Regions from separate parts of the Homo sapiens genome. Here region 1 is linked to region 2. The links are contacts of gene promoters, found by promoter capture Hi-C in blood cells and fetal thymus (Javierre and others, 2016). All regions are on one chromosome and are shown on one strand. The core of a region is centred on a gene start or on the middle of the fragment in contact, and the rest is flanking DNA. Distances in the headings are between cores, read along the strand shown. Region 1 holds the start of LINC01530 (long intergenic non-protein coding RNA 1530). Region 2 holds the start of ZNF333 (zinc finger protein 333).

What was found. The method cuts DNA at HindIII sites, captures the fragments that hold promoters and counts their contacts. A CHiCAGO score of 5 or more calls a contact.
Region 1: a contact is called between the fragment with the promoter of LINC01530 here and the fragment with the promoter of ZNF333 in region 2, in 2 of 17 cell types (total CD8 T cells and total CD4 T cells). The highest score is 7.3, in total CD8 T cells.

What each region holds. Positions count from the first base shown.
Region 1 is chr19:51,591,555-51,596,092 of GRCh38, forward strand. LINC01530 (long intergenic non-protein coding RNA 1530) reads right to left here and starts at 2,826. Exons shown (of 2, transcript NR_034159.1): 1 at 2,395-2,826; 2 at 229-1,497. It overlaps ZNF175 (zinc finger protein 175), which reads left to right. Exons shown (of 5, transcript NM_007147.4): 5 at 1-956. RefSeq lists enhancers at 1,270-1,905, 1,906-2,541, 2,542-3,177, 2,924-3,233, 3,444-3,493 and a silencer at 3,576-3,743. The HindIII fragment of the contact is 8,842 bases long and covers 1-3,960 here.
Region 2 is chr19:14,687,311-14,691,684 of GRCh38, forward strand. ZNF333 (zinc finger protein 333) reads left to right here and starts at 2,738. Exons shown (of 12, transcript NM_032433.4): 1 at 2,738-2,840. RefSeq lists silencers at 2,332-2,381, 2,712-3,081. The HindIII fragment of the contact is 1,516 bases long and covers 1,978-3,493 here.

The DNA.
Region 1 (4,538 bases), core at 1,576-4,075, about 37 Mb after region 2:
GTATGAACTAACTCGTTTATTCCTCACAGCCATTGTAGGAAATAATCTAACCTCATAAACCCCATTTTAGAGATGAGGAAACAGGCTTAGAGAATTTGACGTAAACTCAAGACCGAAAATCTAGGAACAAGAAAAGCCTGGATTTGAACCAAGCTATCTGATGCCAGTGTTTTAACTCTCAACCATTGTACTACTTTACCTCCTCATGACCTTTTTTTTTTTTTTCTTGTGAGATGGAGTCTCGCTCTGTCGCCCAGGCTCTGGAGTGCAGTGGCACGATCTCAGCTCACTGCAAGCTCCGCCTCCCGGGTTCACGCCATTCTCCTGCCTCAGCCTCCCGAGTAGCTGGGACTACAGGCGCCCACCACCATGCCTGGCTAATTTTTTGTATTTTTAGTAGAGACGGGGTTTCACCGTGTTGGCCAGGATGGTCTCGATCTCCTGACCTCGTGATCCCCCCCCCTCGGCCTCCCAAAGTGCCCATGACCTTTTTATTGTTGGGCAGTGAAAGCCATGGTGAAATGAAGAATGTCCTACTGTCATGTGATGTGATCAGAAAACATACTGCCCAGAGTCCCCTGCCCCCACCCCCAAAACCAGTACTTGATCCATCCTTTGACTGTTGTGGCGATTGGCACAAAGGTTGGGCACAGTAGTAGTTAGGCTCATGGGCTCTGGAGCCAACCTACCTGGATGCTACACATCCCAGCTCTGCCCCTCGCTAGTTTGGTGGCAAGCAACTTAACCTCTCTGCCTTAATTTCTCCAGCAGCACAATGGGAATAATAATAGATCTCGCCTTGTGGCTCCTTTGCAGATTACATGCGTTAATTATGTAAAGTCAAGCATTAGAATGGTGGCTGTCCACCATGAGTACAACACAAATGCTCGTTCTTAATGATTCAACAAACATGGAATTTCATTAAATCTGAAATAAAGGTATTTTGAGAAATTGAATTCCGTTATCAAGTGTGAAGTCCTGATCCAGACTCACCTCGTGCACACTATTTACCACAAAGGTGGACTCCCTATTTTAAATGCATTCACTTAAAGAGACCTTTCCCTGTACTAATTAGTGTTTGTTAAGAAGGACCTTCTGGACATAGTTGAAAGAAAGAGAAAAGAAGCAGGTGTGGGGAGGAGGAGAAGGAGAAGGGAGGAAGGGAGGGAGGGGAAAGAAGATGGATGGACAGATGGAAGGAAGGAATTAGGGATGGCAGAAAGGAGATAAAATAAACTCTACTTTTAAAAGAAACCAGGTGGGGTGAGTGGGAGGGCTTCCCTGTGACCTTGGCCTCAGGGGCTCTTTCTGGCTTCCAGATAAGATACCCCTCAGCTTTGCACTGGGTCTCCTGAGGCTTGGAAGTTATGTCCACAGTGAGGTTGGTGTAGAGGGGCAGCCACTCTTTGGAGAGCAACCTGTAGCCCAGACAGTTGATGCCATCATCAGAGGATCCAGGGATCGGAGGATTGGCGGATCCGGGACAGAAGGCGAGGCCTGGAGGATGGGGAGGGGCAGCCATGTGAGCCTCAGGGAGGACCCAGAACCAACCACCCCACTTCCAACACTGATTCACCTCCAGGGCCTCTGCTTGTGGCCAGGATCTTCCCCCTCCAGCATATGGTAGCCTCTGAAAAGCAGGTGGGGCTGGGAGAGGAGCATCCCGCTTAGTTTCACCCTTCCAGAGACACAGGAAGGCATGGAGGCCAAACACCTGTCTCTGACAGGGTCCCCATGCCACAGCCCAGCCCTCCAGTCCAGGGTAGCCCATGTCCCCCTCAGCCCAGGGCGGCCCATACCTGCCTCATCATGTCAGGACCTGCAGCTCCTGCCTCCCACCTGGCAGTGATGTCATCCTCATCATCCCAACCCCACTACACGTTGGAGAAGCCATTTATCTTCAGGTAGTGAGTGGGGTGCAGGGCAAACACCCCTCCAAGGCACAAGCTAACGGCTTAATTGCTGTTGTTTCCCCATGTTCTGGCTTGCAGCACTTGTAACCTCTGGGCTCCTGCAGCCCTTAACATCTGATACCTTTACATTAAGATTTATCATCCTTATCTCTGGACCAGGCTGAATACACCTGTGTCCCGGTGCATCTGGCCAGCGGGTCAAAGGGCCTAGCACACAGATTAACAAATGAATGAGTTCCAGTTACCAAAGTTCAATCCTTGAGGTGGACAGAAGACGCCCAAGGCGTGTCTCCCATCACCCTTCACTCTCAATCCTCCTTATCAAGGGCCTCACGGGAATAGTGATAAGATCTCAGAATATACAGGAGGGAGCAGTTTCGGGAAGGGGGGCATTGGAAGGAAGTGGAGGGCTTGGATCTGGGGAGCAAGCGGGGAGAGTGCTCCGTTCCTTGGTTTTGGGATCTTGCCTTACGGGTCTCACCTGCCCTCCATCCTGGCTTCCACCTGGCAGGGTGTGTTTGTGTCAGAAAGACGATTGTGCGTAACTGTTCACCGCGTCCACGTCCCGAGAGTTGCGCACGCGTGGAGATCTGCAAAACGCTCCCTTTCAGCTCCGCGCATGCACAGAGACCCCACCCCGCAAGTCCTTGCCCTTCGGCCTGGGCAGGCGTCCACTCCCATGGCTGCAGGGCGCGCCGAAGAGCCCACTCTGCATCCCCGAGACGCGGCCCAATCCTAGGAATGTGCTTAGCGCAGGTGCTATCTTCCCTTTTCACATTCCCAATCTCTTTCTCCGCCCCCTCAAACTCTTGCCATACTCCCACAACAGCAGAAAATCTGAAAAAAAAGTCCATCCCATCTTTGCACTGACAGCAGTGCACAGCAGCTGGCAGAGAATTCTGGCACGGCTATTGTGCTTGCGCAGGCGCAGACGGGAAGCGGGCCGGACCGGCCTAGTACACTCTGGGAGGCGTGCGCAGAATGCGCAGCGCTGCCGCGAGGATCTCTGGGAACTGTAGGCCCAGTTTGTCCGAGAGCCGCAAGTGTTTCGGGACGACGCAACGCAGGGGCACCTGGGAGTCGTAGGCGGATGGGCCCAAAGCCTTCCGGGAGTCGTAGTCCTTCCGCCCGCTCCTCGTTTCTTTGGAGGTTGGCCCTTCCAGCTCCAGTTCTGCCCAGGTGAGCGCCCATCCCGCGGCCGGCCGGTCCTGGCCCTTTGTCGCGATGACGTGGCGGAGTTGAGGGTCTCTGTATTTCTCTCCCCCGCGTTCTGGTAGGCGTCCCTGGAAAGATGGCACCCTTTTCCGTGATCTCTCAATCCCTCTCTCCGGGTGGGAGTGCTCTAAGCAGCTGTTGTACCTGCTGACCCGCTTTGGATTCTGCGGCCCAGCCTGACACCTTCTCACTCTCGCCCTTCAACCTGGGTGCAGTGCGAGTGCACCCTCCTCTGTCCTGGTTACAACACAGAGTGGTCAGGGCTGGCCCAGGGGGTGCTCAGGAGGCTGTGGGAACACAGAGGAGGTGCTAGACCCAGCCCAGGGTTCAGGAAAGACCTTACAGAGCAAAGGACCTCAAATCTACCACATCCAAACGAAATCCCAGATTCCCTGTCCTAAACCTGCTCCTCTCACAATCTTTCTGCCTCCTCCCCACTAACTGTCCATCCAAGTGCTCAAGCCAAAATCTTGGAATGGTCGCCAGTGTTCTGTTTCTCTCATCCGCTTCCCTCCCGCAACCAAATCTTGTGTGAGTCTCATCGTCTCTATCTCCAGAAGAGGCCCAGAATCTAACCACTTCTCTCCACTTCCACTGTCTCCATTCTGCTCCGAGCTACCGTTACTCCTCACCTGCATCACTGCAGGGGCCTCCTCACTGTTCTGTTTCTTCCCTTGCCACACTCCACCCTCTATTCAGGCACAGTGCCAGGAAGCCTGTGGAAATATAAATCAGATCCTGTCACCAGTCACTACCCTGCCCCCCAGCTTAAAATCATCCAGTGGTTCCCATCTCAGAATAAAATCCAAGCTCCTTATCCTGCCAACCTCTAAGCTTCTGGTCCTTTCTGGTCGTCCTCAGTCACAACACACTTTCCAATGGGCTGAACACAGCCAGGCCCTGCCCTTCATGTCCTTTGCATTTGCTATTAACTCAATTTGGAGCATTCTTCCCACCCTGACCCAATATCTGTCTACTCATTTTGTTGGCCTCAGCTCAAAGGCCTCCAGCCACCCTAAAGAACCCCCTCCCTGTTCCCCCCCCCCCAGTCATACCACCAAAGATAATTCCCTCGTATTTGGAAAGCATCTTAGTCATTTACTTCCTTATCCATGGCCTGGTTCCTCCATTAGAACATCAGTGCCCTGACAGCTGCAACCTTTCCTATCTTGCTCACTGCTGTGTCCCAGTACCTAGAGCATGCTGGGTACATAGGCGGCACTCAGTGGGTATTTGTTAAATGAATGAATGAAAGTTTGAGCTGAGACTTGAAGGTAAGAGTTAGGTCTACCACAGTGTTTAGGGAAGTGTCTTGCGCAATGAGATCAGCCTGGCCAAAGATGCAAGGGGTTGAAAAACCAATGGGAAGTTCATCTGGCTGAGGTGAGTAGGTAACTAAAACAGGGATGC
Region 2 (4,374 bases), core at 1,488-3,987:
AAAGAATCAGCTCATGTTATTTGCAGGGACATGGATGCACTGGAGGCCATTATCCTTAGCAAACTAACACAGGAACAGCAGACCAAATACTGGATGTTCTCACTTCTTTTTTTTTGAAACGGAGTCTAGCTCTATTGCCCAGGCTGGATTGCAATGGTGCGATCTCGGCTCACTGCAACATCTGCTTCCCAGGTTCAAGTGATTCTCCTGCATCACCCTCCCGGGTAGCTGGGATTACAGGCGCCTGCCATCATGCCCGGCTAATTTTTGTATTTTTAATAGAGACGGGGTTTCACCATGTTGGCCAGGCTGGTCTTGAACTCCTGACCTCAGGTGATCCACCTGCCTCAGCCTCCCAAAGTGCTGGGATTACAGGCGTGAGCCACCATGCTTGGCCACTGACTCCTTTCTTACTCCTGGCTTTGTTGAGTTATAGTTGACAAATAAAAATTGTATATATTTAAGGTGTACAACTTGATGTTTTGATATACATACAGTGAAATAATGAAGCAATTAGCACATCCATCGCCTCACATATTTGCTTTTTTTTTTTTGGTGGTAAGAACACGTAAGACCTACCCTCTTAGCACATTTCAAGTACATAATATGTTCCTGTTAACTACAGTCACCATGCTGTACATTAGATCTCCAAAACTTATTTATCTGAAATAACTGAACCTTTGTACATTTTGTTTTTTAAATGATACATTTCTTTTATTTTTATTTTTAGAGACAGTGTCTTGCTATGTGGCCCAGGCTGGTCATCTGGAACTCCTGGACTCAAGCGATCCTCCTGCCTTGGCCTCCCAAAGTGTGCTGTGATTACATGCATGAGCCACCCCGCCCGGCCCAACTTCTTTGTAAGAACATTTAGCTTAAAACACAGATAAATTGTACTGCATAAAGGTATTTTCTTTCTTTATATCCTTATTCTATAAGCTATTTTTCATTTTTTTTTTTGAGATGGAGTTTTGCTCTTGTTGCACAGGCTGGAGTGCAATGGCAAGACCTTGGGTCACTGCACCCTCCACCTCCTGGGTTCAAGCAATTCTCCTGCCTCAGCCTCCCGAATAGCTGGGATTACAGGCGCATGCCACCATGCCCAGCTAATTTTTGTATTACTAGTAGAGACTGGGGGTTTCATCATGTTGGCCAGGCTGGTCTCGAACTCCTGACCTCAAGTGATCCACCAGCGTCGGCCTCCAAAGTCTTGGGATTGCAGGCGTAAGCCACCGCGCCCGGTCTTTTCATATTTTTAAAACCTTTTTAAATGTGAGTAATGTGTTGCACTGCAACATTGTGACAGTTACAACATCACTAGGTGATAAGAAATTTTCAGCTCCATTATAACCTTATGGGATCACAACTGTGTATGTGTTTCGTGGTTGACCAAAACCTTGTTATGTGGTGCATGACTGCACATGTGCTTGATATATAAAGAATACCAGGGAACTAGTGACAGTGGTTGTTTCAGGGGAGGAAAATTTAGGAATAGAGTGAGCCTCCCGTTTGAACTTTTCCCATAGGTATGTACTATGTATACTACATAATAAATAGTTTTTAAAAAGTCAGATCTATGTCTTAGATTCACACATCTTATTTTTAGTGAGAAGGGCAAGCTGTAGAAGAAACAAAAATACATCGTCCTATTTTTAGAATAAAGACAGTTAGTTGACCCGTGAACACCAAGGGTTTGAACTGTGGCTATCCCCTTATAGGTAGATTTTTTTCTACCTTTGTCCTCCTTGGGACAGCAAGACAAACCCCTCCCTTTCCTCAGCCTACTCAGGGTGAAGCTGACGATGAAGACGTTTATTTATGATCTTTACGATCACTTCCACGTAACGAAGAGTAAATATATTTTCTCTTCTTCATGATTTTCTTAATAACACTTTCTTTTCTCTGAGCTTAGTTTATTTTAAGAATATGGCATATAATATACAAAATATGTGTTAACTAACTTTATGTTATTGGTAAAGCTTCTGGTTAACAGTAGTCTATTAGTAGGTAGGTTTTGGGGGAGTCAAAAGAAGTGAATTTTCCACTGCACAGGGTGGCGCCCCAACTCCCGTTGCCTAAGGGTCAGCCGTATAAAAATATACAAAAACAATCTTAAGTATGGGTATATTTTTGTAGGGGATTGGATTAAGCCCATGGATAAAGGTGGAAGGGGTTGGGGAAAAGGAAGGAGAAAAGGGTAAGTTAAATATTGAGCATCCCTAAAGAGACCCGGGGAGGGGTCGGGTGTGCCCCTCTCAACCCTTGAAGCCCAGGTCCCCTCATCCCGCCTTCCGAATGCAAGTTCAGCTCCCATTCCCACCCCAAGCACAAGCCCCGCCCCATTTTTGCCCCTGAGGCGCACGACCCGCCCCTACTACCACCCTGCAAACCAAGGCCCCGCCCACTCCGCCATTGGGGTGCAAGCCCCGCCCATCAGCCATCGGAGGGCAAGCCACACTCCACCCCGCCCCCGCGCACAGGCCCCGCCCCACTTTTGCCCCGGGACCTAAGCCCCACCCCTATCCCTGTCTCTCGGACATAGGCTCCGCCCCCAGCACCACCCTCCATGCTCTGTGGGACCCCACTCCAGAGCCTAACCTCATCCCCCGGGTAAGAATACTAGAATTTCTCCTTGGAGGCTAAAGAAGACGTTAGTTTCTCTGCCGCCGCCTAAGGCTACCCTGGCCACAACAGCCTGAGCCACAGCCACTTCCGTTCCCGGCGGCCCCGAGACCGGAAGCGGAAGTGCGCGCGGCGGCGGCCGACGGCGGCTGAGCTGTGCTGCGCGGCGCGGCGCGGTGCGGCACGGCACGGTGGGAGTGTCTCCGGCTGGCTTGCAGGTGTGGCCCGGCCCCTCGGGAGGGCGGGGAGGGCGGGGAGGGCTCGGCTGGCGCGGGGAGGGACTGGAGGGCCTAGAACAGCTCCGCCTGTGTGAGGGGTTTCCTCCCTGCGATCAGCCGGTGGCCGGCGTGAGGCCCACACAGTCAGGGCCTCGCATCTGGGCGCCCGCCGCCCGGTCTCTCGCTCTCAGGTACCCCCCGTCCGGGCAGACAGGGCTGTCATCCTGTCAAAAGGGAAATCCCAAACAGTCCAGGTCCCACAGCTCAGAAATGTGGTGACACCGGCCCCAGCTCTCACCTGTCCTTCCCAATTTTTAGGGAAAGTGCATAAAGACGGCCCTACCTTGCCTACAGTATGCAAGATAACTGCGAATTAGTAATTCACGTTTTATTTGATATGATACTTAATATTATCTAGCTTTGCAACTGGAAAGTGAGGTCTGGGTCCACATGTGCAAACTGGTTTAATTGATTGGCCAAATTTACTTAAAAAATTGAATGCATCCTCCATTAAGGAATGAATTAGATGACGAGAGATTTCTTTTGGAGACTGACAATTTGAAGTCTTTTAGCTTAATATCTGTTAGCTTGGCTTTGCATCTCTTCCTTTTCCATAACTTTTTCTTTCTTCTTTTTTTTCTTTCTCATAAGAAAGCTTTTGGCCAGGCTTGGTGGCTCACTCCTATAATCCCAGCACTTTGGGAGGCCGAGGCGGGTGGATCACCTGAGGTCAGGAGTTTGAGACCAGCCTGGCCAACATGGTGAAACCCTGTCTTTACTAAAAATACACAAATTAGCCGAGCGTAGTGGTGGGCGCCTGTAATCCCAACTACTCGGGAGGCTGAGGCAGGAGAATCGCTTGAACCCCAGAGGCGGAGGTTGCAGTGAGCTGAGATTGTGCCACTGCACTCCAGCCTGGGTGACAGAGCAAGACTCCATCTCAAAAACAAAAACAACAACAAAAGGAGGAGTTCTTAATTTTTTTTGTTTTTGTTTTTCTTTATTTTCTATGTTTGAGACGACTTTTACTTCTGCTGTGGGCATCAAGTTTCTCACTGTTAGGTTAAGAAAAGCCGTTTCTCAGTTATTTCACAAATATTATTATCAAGAAAACCTAAGACTGTTATTCAGATCTTTTCAAGTTGGCTCCAGTCCTTCCCCCAAGCATGTGAATCACAGAGCTTCAAAACTAATGGAACTTCAGGGAAAAGACGATATAAACTTTGTTAATACTGGAAATTCAAATTGAGTTGGCCATAAGTGGGATGTCTTTTTTAATAATGGGGTTAAAGCTCGTGTCTACTGAGAAATCAGGAAAAAATTAACTCCAGAGGAAAATCATGCATCAGATTTCAGTTTTACGAGTGAGGTGTTTGTTTCCACAAAGAATATATGCGCTTGCCTTGCCTTTTTAAAAAGAATTAATATTGTTTCTTAAAGGTACCTGAAACTTGTGTGATTATGTCTTATGAAAGACAGGCACTTTAAGTTATTCTTATATTTGATTTTTATGGTGTCATATTGTCTTTTTTTT